2 separate regions of the Homo sapiens genome follow, and region 1 is linked to region 2. The links are contacts of gene promoters, found by promoter capture Hi-C in blood cells and fetal thymus (Javierre and others, 2016). All regions are on one chromosome and are shown on one strand. Each heading gives the region's core, a stretch centred on a gene start or on the middle of the fragment in contact. The rest is flanking DNA. Distances are from core to core; before and after follow the strand shown. Region 1 overlaps FSIP1 (fibrous sheath interacting protein 1). Region 2 holds the start of ANKRD63 (ankyrin repeat domain 63).

Evidence for each region. The method cuts DNA at HindIII sites, captures the fragments that hold promoters and counts their contacts. A CHiCAGO score of 5 or more calls a contact.
Region 1: a contact is called between a fragment that was not itself captured here and the fragment with the promoter of ANKRD63 in region 2, in 7 of 17 cell types (naive CD4 T cells, total CD4 T cells, naive CD8 T cells and 4 more). The highest score is 10.9, in naive CD4 T cells.

The regions. Positions count from the first base shown.
Region 1 is chr15:39,684,173-39,689,063 of GRCh38, reverse strand. The region is part of intron 10 of FSIP1 (fibrous sheath interacting protein 1); the gene reads left to right. Among named protein-coding and RNA genes, the nearest start is that of FSIP1, 96 kb to the left of the region's middle. The HindIII fragment of the contact is 7,515 bases long and covers 1-4,891 here.
Region 2 is chr15:40,281,316-40,285,593 of GRCh38, reverse strand. It overlaps ANKRD63 (ankyrin repeat domain 63), which reads left to right and starts at 2,530. Exons shown (of 1, transcript NM_001190479.3): 1 at 2,530-4,278. The coding sequence starts at 3,008. The coding sequence ends at 4,150. It also overlaps a transcript of PLCB2 not described here. RefSeq lists silencers at 2,569-2,638, 2,709-2,768, 2,779-3,048. The HindIII fragment of the contact is 15,046 bases long and covers 1-4,278 here.

The DNA.
Region 1 (4,891 bases), core at 2,253-4,752, 600 kb after region 2:
CTCTGATTTATAATTAGTCAGTCAGAGAGTCCAGGTCAGAGAGGCCTGGGATGTATCTACCTGACATCTTCATATGTCAAATAACTCATCCAAACTAGTTAATGCCACTGAAAATTCTTGGTGAAACAGACCTCTAGAAAATACACTTCCCCAATTTTAAATTGTTCTTAGTAATTCACTAAAATTTAGCCTATGAAAATTTTTCCAGTGGTGGGCTCTACTTAGCAGGCACAAAACTGGAGAAGGACACCACCTCACCCACAGGTGTTAGGCAAAGAGATTGGGTGCTGGGTCAGAGCCACATGAAGCAGGGTTTTAGAGGGCATAGGCCTGTATGTATTTGGACACTCAATGTGGAACAGGGCTGTGCTTCTGCATAGGACTTAGAATCTGGAATAAAAATAGATATTTTTCTCTGCAGTCCTATACCTTTGCTACCCAGTTTTAAAAGTTTGTGGCTTTCTAGAAATCATAGTACAGATGGTCCCTGATTTATTATGGTCAATTTAATGATTTTTCAACTTTATGATGGTGCAAAAGCCATATGCATTCAGCAGAAACCTTAACTCGAATACCTATACCAACATTCTTCTTTTCACTTTAGGTACAGCTTTCAAGAAATTACATGAGATATTCAACACTTGATTATAAAATAGGCTTTGTGTTAGATGACTTTTCCCAACTGTAGGCTAATATAAGTGTTCTGAGCATGTTTAAGGTAGGCTGGACTAAACTATGATGTTCAGTAGGTTAGGTGTATTAAGTAAATGGATTTTTGGCTTACTGTATTTTCAACTTACAATGGGTTTATCAGGATGTAAGCCCATTGTAAGTTGAGGAGCATCTGTATTCTGATCATTGTCATCTCCCTGAAGTTGTGGTTTCTTTTAGGTGTGTATTTTGTGAATGCATACGATTGCATCGACTGGTCTGATTTTGTCAGCAGTGACTAGTCTGTCTACTTCTACTTTGTATTCAGAGAGATTACCTATAAGCAGAGTTGGTAGCTTCCTACCAATATAGTTCCATGGATGCTTGGCAGGCCCCTTAGCCTAATAATATGCCTCTCTTCTGATTCCTAGTGCTTGAAGTTCTTTGGCTTGGTTTGGTTCCAAATTTTGGGAGTTAGAGATTCCTTTAAGAATCTCATTAAGGCTGTGAACCTCTTTCCTGGAAAAATGCTCATATAGATGTACATAAAAATGTGTTCTTGAACTCTAAAATTAAGAACTCCTGTGTTAGGTAGAGGTAAAGTCTTTCCACAGTTAGAGAAGAGGCTTAAAATGTAAATCAGGCAAGGCAAGAGGATACATTCATTAAACAAGCATTGATTAAGGGCTTAATGTTTACAAACACCATGGGTAGGTTTTGGGCATACAGATTAAGACCTGGTCTTCTTTCTTGACAAACTTTTAGCTTGGTAGAGGAGGCCCTCATGTAGACAGAGAGTTACAATGTGAGGTATTCAGGCCTGAAAAAGAGGTGGATACAAAGTGCCAGGGAACCAGATGGGAGGTAGGGACCAACTCTGCAAGTGACTGGCTCATGTTTACCTTAGAATAGAAATGGCTGATTCTAGACGCTTGCCTCAGTCAGTTTAGAAAGGTGAAAGCTGGGTGCGGTGGCTCACGCCTGTAATCCCAAGACTTTGGGAGGCCAAGGCGGGTGGATCACCTGAGGGCAGGAGTTTGAGACCAGCCTGGCCAACATGGTGAAACCCCATTTCTACTAAAAATACAAAATTAGCTGGGTGTGGTGGCACATGCCTGTAATCTTAGCTACTTGGGAGGCTGAAGCAGGAGAATTGCTTGAACCCAGGAGGCAGAGGTTGCACTGAGCCAAGATCACGCTATTGCACTCCCACTCCAGCCTGGGCAACAAGAGCAAAACTCTGTCTCAAAAAAAAAAAAAAAAAAAAAAAAAAAAGGAAAAGAAAAGAAAGAAAGAAAGGTGAAAGGGCATTGGGTGTCAAAAGCAGGAGTGTTATTGAGTAAGAGGCTGCAAAGCAGGGAAGGACACAGATTGGAGAGAAAAGGAGAGATTGAGATTGCCAAGGAGAAACCTCACATTTAAAAGGTTTACTTGGGACCCAGCCATTTGTAGCTACCTGAAACTGGGATGATATTTTGCAAATAGATACAGACAAGTAGGCAGAACTGTCTGCCCCATTCTCCTGCCAACAACAAACAAAACATAAAACATAATTCCAAATAAGGGAAATGCCCATTACTCAGACTTTCCCTTTGAATCTAATAATGTCACCCAAGTCTTGAGGAATTTGCTAATTGTTTGTAGATCCTACAAGGTCATAATCTAGACCTGTTTTAAAAAATCTTTTAAAACTTCAATATATTTATTTGAAAGGGATGAAGAAATGATATACATTCTACCCAGTCTGCAGGATTACTTGACACTTGCCGTCATAGGCTGGGACTCAAGAAGTATTAGAGGCCACCATTTGTTTTTTCAGTTAGTCACAGCCTTTGCTCACAGGGCTTTTGAAATTATTTTAATTCAGTTACACATATAGTTGAAGCTACAAATTTATCTCAGTTCTACATTGTAATACTGGAACAATGCATTGCCAAGGGGCGATAAAGTCAGAATACCAATTTATATTGACAGTTTGGTGAGATATTCTTCTGTGATTATACACCAAAGCCTTAGATGTAGAAATTAATGGGAAAAGTTTTTAATTGAAAATGTATTTTCTCATTTTTTAAATTTATTTTTTGTTAAAGTGAGGCACCTGGGTTTGAATTTTATACTGCTAATACTTTGGGAAGGCCATAGTGGAGGTGGAAATATGGTTTTGAGATGAAGCAGTGTGAAGGTGCCACCTAGTGGTCACATAATCACGTCTGTGTTCTCTTTCTTGCCAGTGGAAATTGGGTACCCGTGGTGGGTTTCCTAGAGAATCCCCTTATAGGTGGTGAATTCGGTTAGCCTATTGCTGTCCTTGATAGGATAAAGTTTTTACTTTTACTTTGTGGTCACTGAAATTATCATCCTCCAAATTTGTTATTTGAAATTAGTTTTGTTAACTGGACAGCTCTTGTTACCCTTTTTGCTAATATTTTTAGCTAATTATGTCAGCAAAAACTTGGGTTAAATGTTAAAATTATAGTGTAATCATAGTTTCCCATTCCATTGGAATGGTCTGACATGTAATGTACAGAGAGCATGCAGAATGTCTGGAGTGTATCGTGGGACACAGCTAAAGCCTGGGTGATGGCCAGCTGCTGTGAGGTTTCATTAAAGGCCTTTCTTGTTGTTTTGGGATTAATCTCTCTTTAGTAGAATGCTGTAGAAGAAAAAAGATCAATAGAAAAACTCATCTTTTGTATAAAAATTTTTTTTTCAGATGAGATGTGTTCAGTAAGCACATACCTCATTAGAGAGATGGCAATGGATGGCTGACTACAGTCATTTCTTTTCTTTACCCTTAAACTACATGTAACCCAGAATTGAAACATATACTTGTATTGAGGTTTTCCAAAACAATTAGTGATAGAGATCTTAAGAAGGACCAGAATTCCTGGAGGGTGTTGTATGTTTTGTTTTCTCAGTGCAAGACATCTTTGAGGTTTCCTTTGCCATCAAAGGCTTTCTATGTGTGTTTGTTGGGGATGGCGGGGGGATTTATAGGAAAGGACTTTCACTGAGATATAAAATAATTTTCCCCAGGAGGATTTTTACTTTGCTAGTCTTGTTTTGGTATCTATTTTGGGCAATATTTACATTAAAAACTTAACATCTGGTAAGTACTAACATTTTATCTTTATCACACATGAACAATTTTTTTTTGTCATGGAAATCCTCATGGTGGAATTAACTAAAACATTATAGAAAGTTCAGGAGGGCTCTTCAGAACAACACAAACTTTAACTAAAAACTTTCCCTAAAGATGCTCTTGGAATTTGCAAATGCAGCCCAGATAGCACACCAGTCATTTAGATTTTAAAGTATGTGCTGCATACCCAACCTTGTCCTAGGTGGACATTGCTGAGAAAAATACACAAAAATAGTGTGATTTGTAGGAGTCTGGGTTCTCAAGGTCCTCAGAAGAGGCAGTACTGAGGCAAGTACGGAGCCAGATTGCCTGTGTTTGAGTCCCTGCTCTGCCCTGGACTAGCTGTGTGACCTTGGAGAAGTTACTTGACCCTCTATGCCCCAGTTTCTTCATCTGGGAGAGGGGATACTAATAACTTGCTTTGCAGGGTTGAGTGGAAAGCACTTAGAACAGTGTCAGGATATATGGCAGGAACTCCATCAATACAAGTCAGCTATTTCCATCCTCACCACATGGTAAAGCCCAGGCACCACACACAGGAGGACAGTTTAACACTGTATTTGATTAAGAAATGTTAAGGCCACTTACTAGAGGAGTTCATAAAAGAGAAAGCAGTGTAGGCTGGGGTATTTAGGAAAAGACATTCTATTTTAGGATTTGACATTCTAAAATAAAATTTATTTTTAAAGCAGCTTTCTCTATTTGGTTTTCAATTAAGGAGATCAATTCATTAGGATTCTTGGTGCTATTTCCTTCTATAGGGTTAAGGAAAAAGAGTAAGATTTCCCTTGGTGCGTCATTCACTTTTTATTCATTGAGCAGCTATTTATGGACTATGTGCTCTATGCCAAGCATTGAGTTTGAGTGAGCGAATGAGACAGGCAGGAATCACAGCTGTAGTGTCTGTTCTCCAGCCTTTTAATAATGTTCCGCATGTGCCTCAGTGACCTTTCCAGATTCCTTATATTTGGTTTATTTTAAATTTTATTTTTAAAAATTGTTTATGATGAAAAATTTCAGACACACATGTGTCTGTTCCTTTGCCAATACCACACTGTCTTTATTGCTGTTGCTTTATATTAAATTTTAAAATCAGCT
Region 2 (4,278 bases), core at 1,281-3,780:
CATTCCTGGGGGCCACCCCAGAAGGGGGCCCTAGCTCTGGGGCGGGAGCAGCTTTGAGGGCTGCACTCTAAATAACTATGCAGCTCTAGAAAACAAAACAAAACAAAATAAAAAAAATGAAATAACTATGCAGCTCTTTCCCTGACACTTTCTAACTTGTTCTTGTGTAAAGCAGGCAGGGCTGGTATTTATCAGTCTCATTTTGCAGCTGAGAATATGCAGGCTTGGAGCCACACTGCTAGTAAATGCCTTCAAGCTGGGACTTAACGCTGATGTCAGATCTGTGGCCTTTTCATGACACCAGGAAAGAAAATTGGCAGATCCCTGACCAAAGGCTTAACAAATGCAAAAAGAGAAAAGGGGGGCTTCGTAGTGGATGCAGGTACACATCACACGCTCCTCACGTGACAGAGGGGAGTGGGAGCCTCTGCTCCATGGCCTGGGTGCCAAATTCAAGGTGGACATCCCCGGAGCCTGGGAGCTGGAGAGAGGCAAGGGGTTCAGGGTGCAGGGCCATGAGCCCACTTTGCCACGCCTATCTATGCCCAGTACCTTTCCCCAGGCATCTCCTACTCCAAAGCATCTGCTCAGACTGAGAACACCATCATTCTTCCCTTATTTCCTGTCTCTGATAGGAAGGGACCCCTTAAAGCAGCCCTCAATAGTGTCCCCTGAAGGTTTATCCTGCTTCCAAGCCTTTGCCTCCAGAACCCGTCTGGAATTACTTCCTTTTTTTTTTTTTTTTTTTTTTTTTTTTGACGGAGTCTCACTCTGTCTCCAGGCTGGAGTGCAGTGGCGTGATCTCGGCTCACTGCAACCTCTGCCTCCCAGGTTCAAGCAATTCTCCTGCGTCAGCCTCCCAAGTAGCAGGGACTACAGGCGCGTGCCACCGCGCCCAGCTAATTTTTGTATTTTTAGTAGAGACGGGGTTTCACCATGTTGGCCAGGATGGTCTCGATCCCTTGATCTCGTGATCCGCCCGCCTCGGCCTCCCAAAGTGCTGGGATTACAGGCGTGAGCCACTGCACCCGGCCTGGGATTCCTTCCTTCTTTCTTTTGCAGCCAGATCCCGCACATCCTTGAAGGCCTATCTTTAAAAGGCCCGAGAGCCCTCTCCTGCCCACAACTCCATCTTTTCATCCAAGGACTGTGTTGGTACGTATTTAGCAGAAGAATTCAGCCCTCAGGTGACAACGTCCATTTTTTAAGTCCCAGTGTTGTCTTCTTAAGAGGTGGAACGTCTCGCACCCAGAACCGAGATTCTGTCTCTCTCTTACCCGCTGCCGGCAACAAAATGTGCGGCTCATGAAAAGTCTCAGTAAATTCTGCAGCTGATAACTGCTTTACTCCTTACTTTACAAATATCCATTCCAACCCTACTCACACCCTCCCCACCACCCACACCCAGGCTCTGAGGCGCCCTAACTCTGCTCCGCCCAGGCCTGTGTATCATCCCCCCTCCTCCAGGACCGAGGGGGACCTGCTGGCCGGAGGGAGAGGAGATGCAGTGGTTTCTCCAAGCATCTTACGGAAAATGGAACTTGTGCTCGCCTCCTCTCTTTAGGGGTCAGCCAGTGGTCAGAGCCAGAGCCCTGTGGCCTGGGGGTTGTTTTGTGCTCAAGGGAGAAGCGAGGGGCAGGGAACCTCGAGTGGGTCCCTAGCTCTTTCCAGGGTGGCGGCGCCAGGGAACTTTTAACATGTCCGCGGCACTCCCGGGTCCTAAGGAGCCCCTCCCTGGTCTGGGCGTCTACACTCTGCCCGCTAGGCAGCCACCAGGAGCTGGCACGCGGGCGCGTTGTCGGGGTTGGAGACGTCTGAAATTGGAGAGCGCACTCGGACCCCACCCCTCGTTCCCAGGGAGCGTGTGCGGGTGGAACAATTGTGTGTGAGTGCGTGATTCTCTGCACTTCGAGTGGCAGTTCCCAGCCAGGCTGAGCGCCCCCAATCCGCGGCACGTATACCCCCTCCCCCAAATTACTCCTCATCCGCCTTTCGCTGCCACCCCTAGCTCGCGCGTGGTCCAGTTCTGCGCTCATGGGGTCCCAATTCCTTTCACCCTGGACCGATGGGGGCAGCTTTCAGTCTTCCCCGACGAGGCCGAGGTCCCGCCAGTTTCTAAGGAGCCGAGGGCACCGACTCGGTTGGGGGCGGAGGGCGGGGAGAGAAGACTGCGACTTTGGGATTGGCCCGGTTGGGTGCATGTGGCCCCCGGCGAGCAGCCCCCGCCCCCGCCCCGCAACCGCCGCCGCATTCCCAGGGGAGCGCGGAGGAGGAACCGCTCCCCTACTTCGTGGCCCACGAAGGGGTGGGGGTCAGGAGCGGTCTCCCCCGCCCCGTCCGTCTCTGCCCTGACGGCGCAGTCCGCTCCCAGGACAGCCATTGCCATGGAGACCCCCAAGGCTATAAAGTCAGGTATCTAGGCGGGCGGCAGCTCCCGCGCCGCTGAGCCCCCCAAGTAAGGAGCAAGCGCCCTGGCGTGGCCCGGCCCCCGCGAGAGGGGAGGAGGCGGAGGAACGGCGCCAGCAGCTTGAGGAGCGGCGCGCCCCGCCAGGGCTGGAGGCAGGCGTGCACGGCGGGCGCCACCGTCGCTGCGGGGGAGCGGGGGCTGCCCTGGGTGCGGGTGAGTGGCACGGCGGCTCCAAACCACGAGGACTGAGGGGCGCCGGACACCGGGAAAGCGGCGAGAGACTCGGGAGAGGGTCGAGTCTCTGCTCCCGACGTCTGGTGGCGGGCCAGGAGCGGAGCCCGGAGTAGCGAGCAATCAACACCTCCAGGCGGGAGGCCCGGGGAAGGAGCGGCGACACGCCAGGCGTGCGGCCCAGGAGCGGCGGGGCAGTCGGAGCCTCCGGGACAGCGGAGTAGGAACCTCGGGACCCTCGGCTGCAGCCGCCCACGCGCGGAGGGAGAGGTATCAGAGCGCGGGCGGAGGCCGGAGCCCCGCGGGGCGCGAGAACAGGGGCGCCCCCGTGCGGAACTGCCAGGCTGCCCGGGCGCGGCGGCCGGGGCCATGCTCAAACCCAAGGACCTGTGCCCCCGAGCGGGGACGCGCACCTTCCTGGAGGCCATGCAGGCGGGCAAAGTGCACTTGGCCCGCTTCGTGTTGGATGCGCTGGACCGCAGCATCATCGACTGCCGCGCGGAGCAGGGCCGTACGCCGCTCATGGTGGCCGTGGGGCTGCCGGACCCCGCGCTGCGCGCGCGCTTCGTGCGGCTGCTGCTCGAGCAGGGTGCTGCAGTGAACCTGCGAGACGAGCGCGGCCGCACCGCACTCAGCCTGGCGTGCGAGCGAGGCCACCTGGACGCCGTGCAGCTGCTGGTGCAGTTCAGCGGTGACCCCGAGGCGGCCGACTCTGCGGGCAACAGCCCGGTGATGTGGGCGGCGGCCTGCGGCCACGGGGCGGTGCTCGAGTTCCTGGTGCGGTCCTTCCGCCGCCTAGGCCTGCGCCTCGACCGCACCAACCGTGCGGGGCTCACCGCGCTGCAACTGGCCGCCGCCCGCGGCCACGGGACCTGTGTGCAGGCCCTCACCGGGCCCTGGGGCCGCGCCGCCGCCGCCGCTGCGGCCCGGGGCTCCAACTCCGATAGTCCCCCTGGCCGCCCGGCCCCCGCGGCCAGCCCCGAGCATCGACGACCCAGCCCCCGCCGCCTCCCGCGGCCTCTCCTGGCGCGCTTTGCGCGAGCGGCGGGCGGCCACGGCGGCGAGGCTGGCTCAGCGGGCAAGAATTCGGGCCGGCACCGGGCGCAGGGCAGCGAACGGCCCGAGCTGGGTCGGAGCATGAGCCTGGCTCTAGGTGCGGTAACCGAGGAGGAGGCTGCCCGCCTGCGGGCTGGGGCCCTGATGGCCCTACCAAACTCGCCCCAGTCTTCGGGGACTGGGCGGTGGCGCTCACAGGAGGTGCTGGAGGGAGCGCCCCCAACCTTAGCGCAAGCCCCCATTGGCCTCAGTCCCCACCCGGAGGGCGGCCCCGGCTCTGGCCGCCTGGGTTTGCGCCGACGCTCCACAGCCCCAGATATCCCCAGCCTGGTCGGGGAGGCGCCAGGGCCCGAGAGTGGCCCGGAGTTAGAGGCCAACGCTCTGTCTGTCTCGGTGCCTGGGCCGAACCCTTGGCAGGCGGGCACCGAGGCTGTGGTGCTGCGTGCTCAGCGGTAAACGGCGCCAAGGCCCGAGGCCTGCTTCCCCTACCCTCCCGTTTCTACTCCACTGGTATTTCTCTCTTCTAGGTCCCTCACCTTTTCGGCAGCCGCCCCCCGCAGTCCATTTTGGAACCTGCCTCCCTG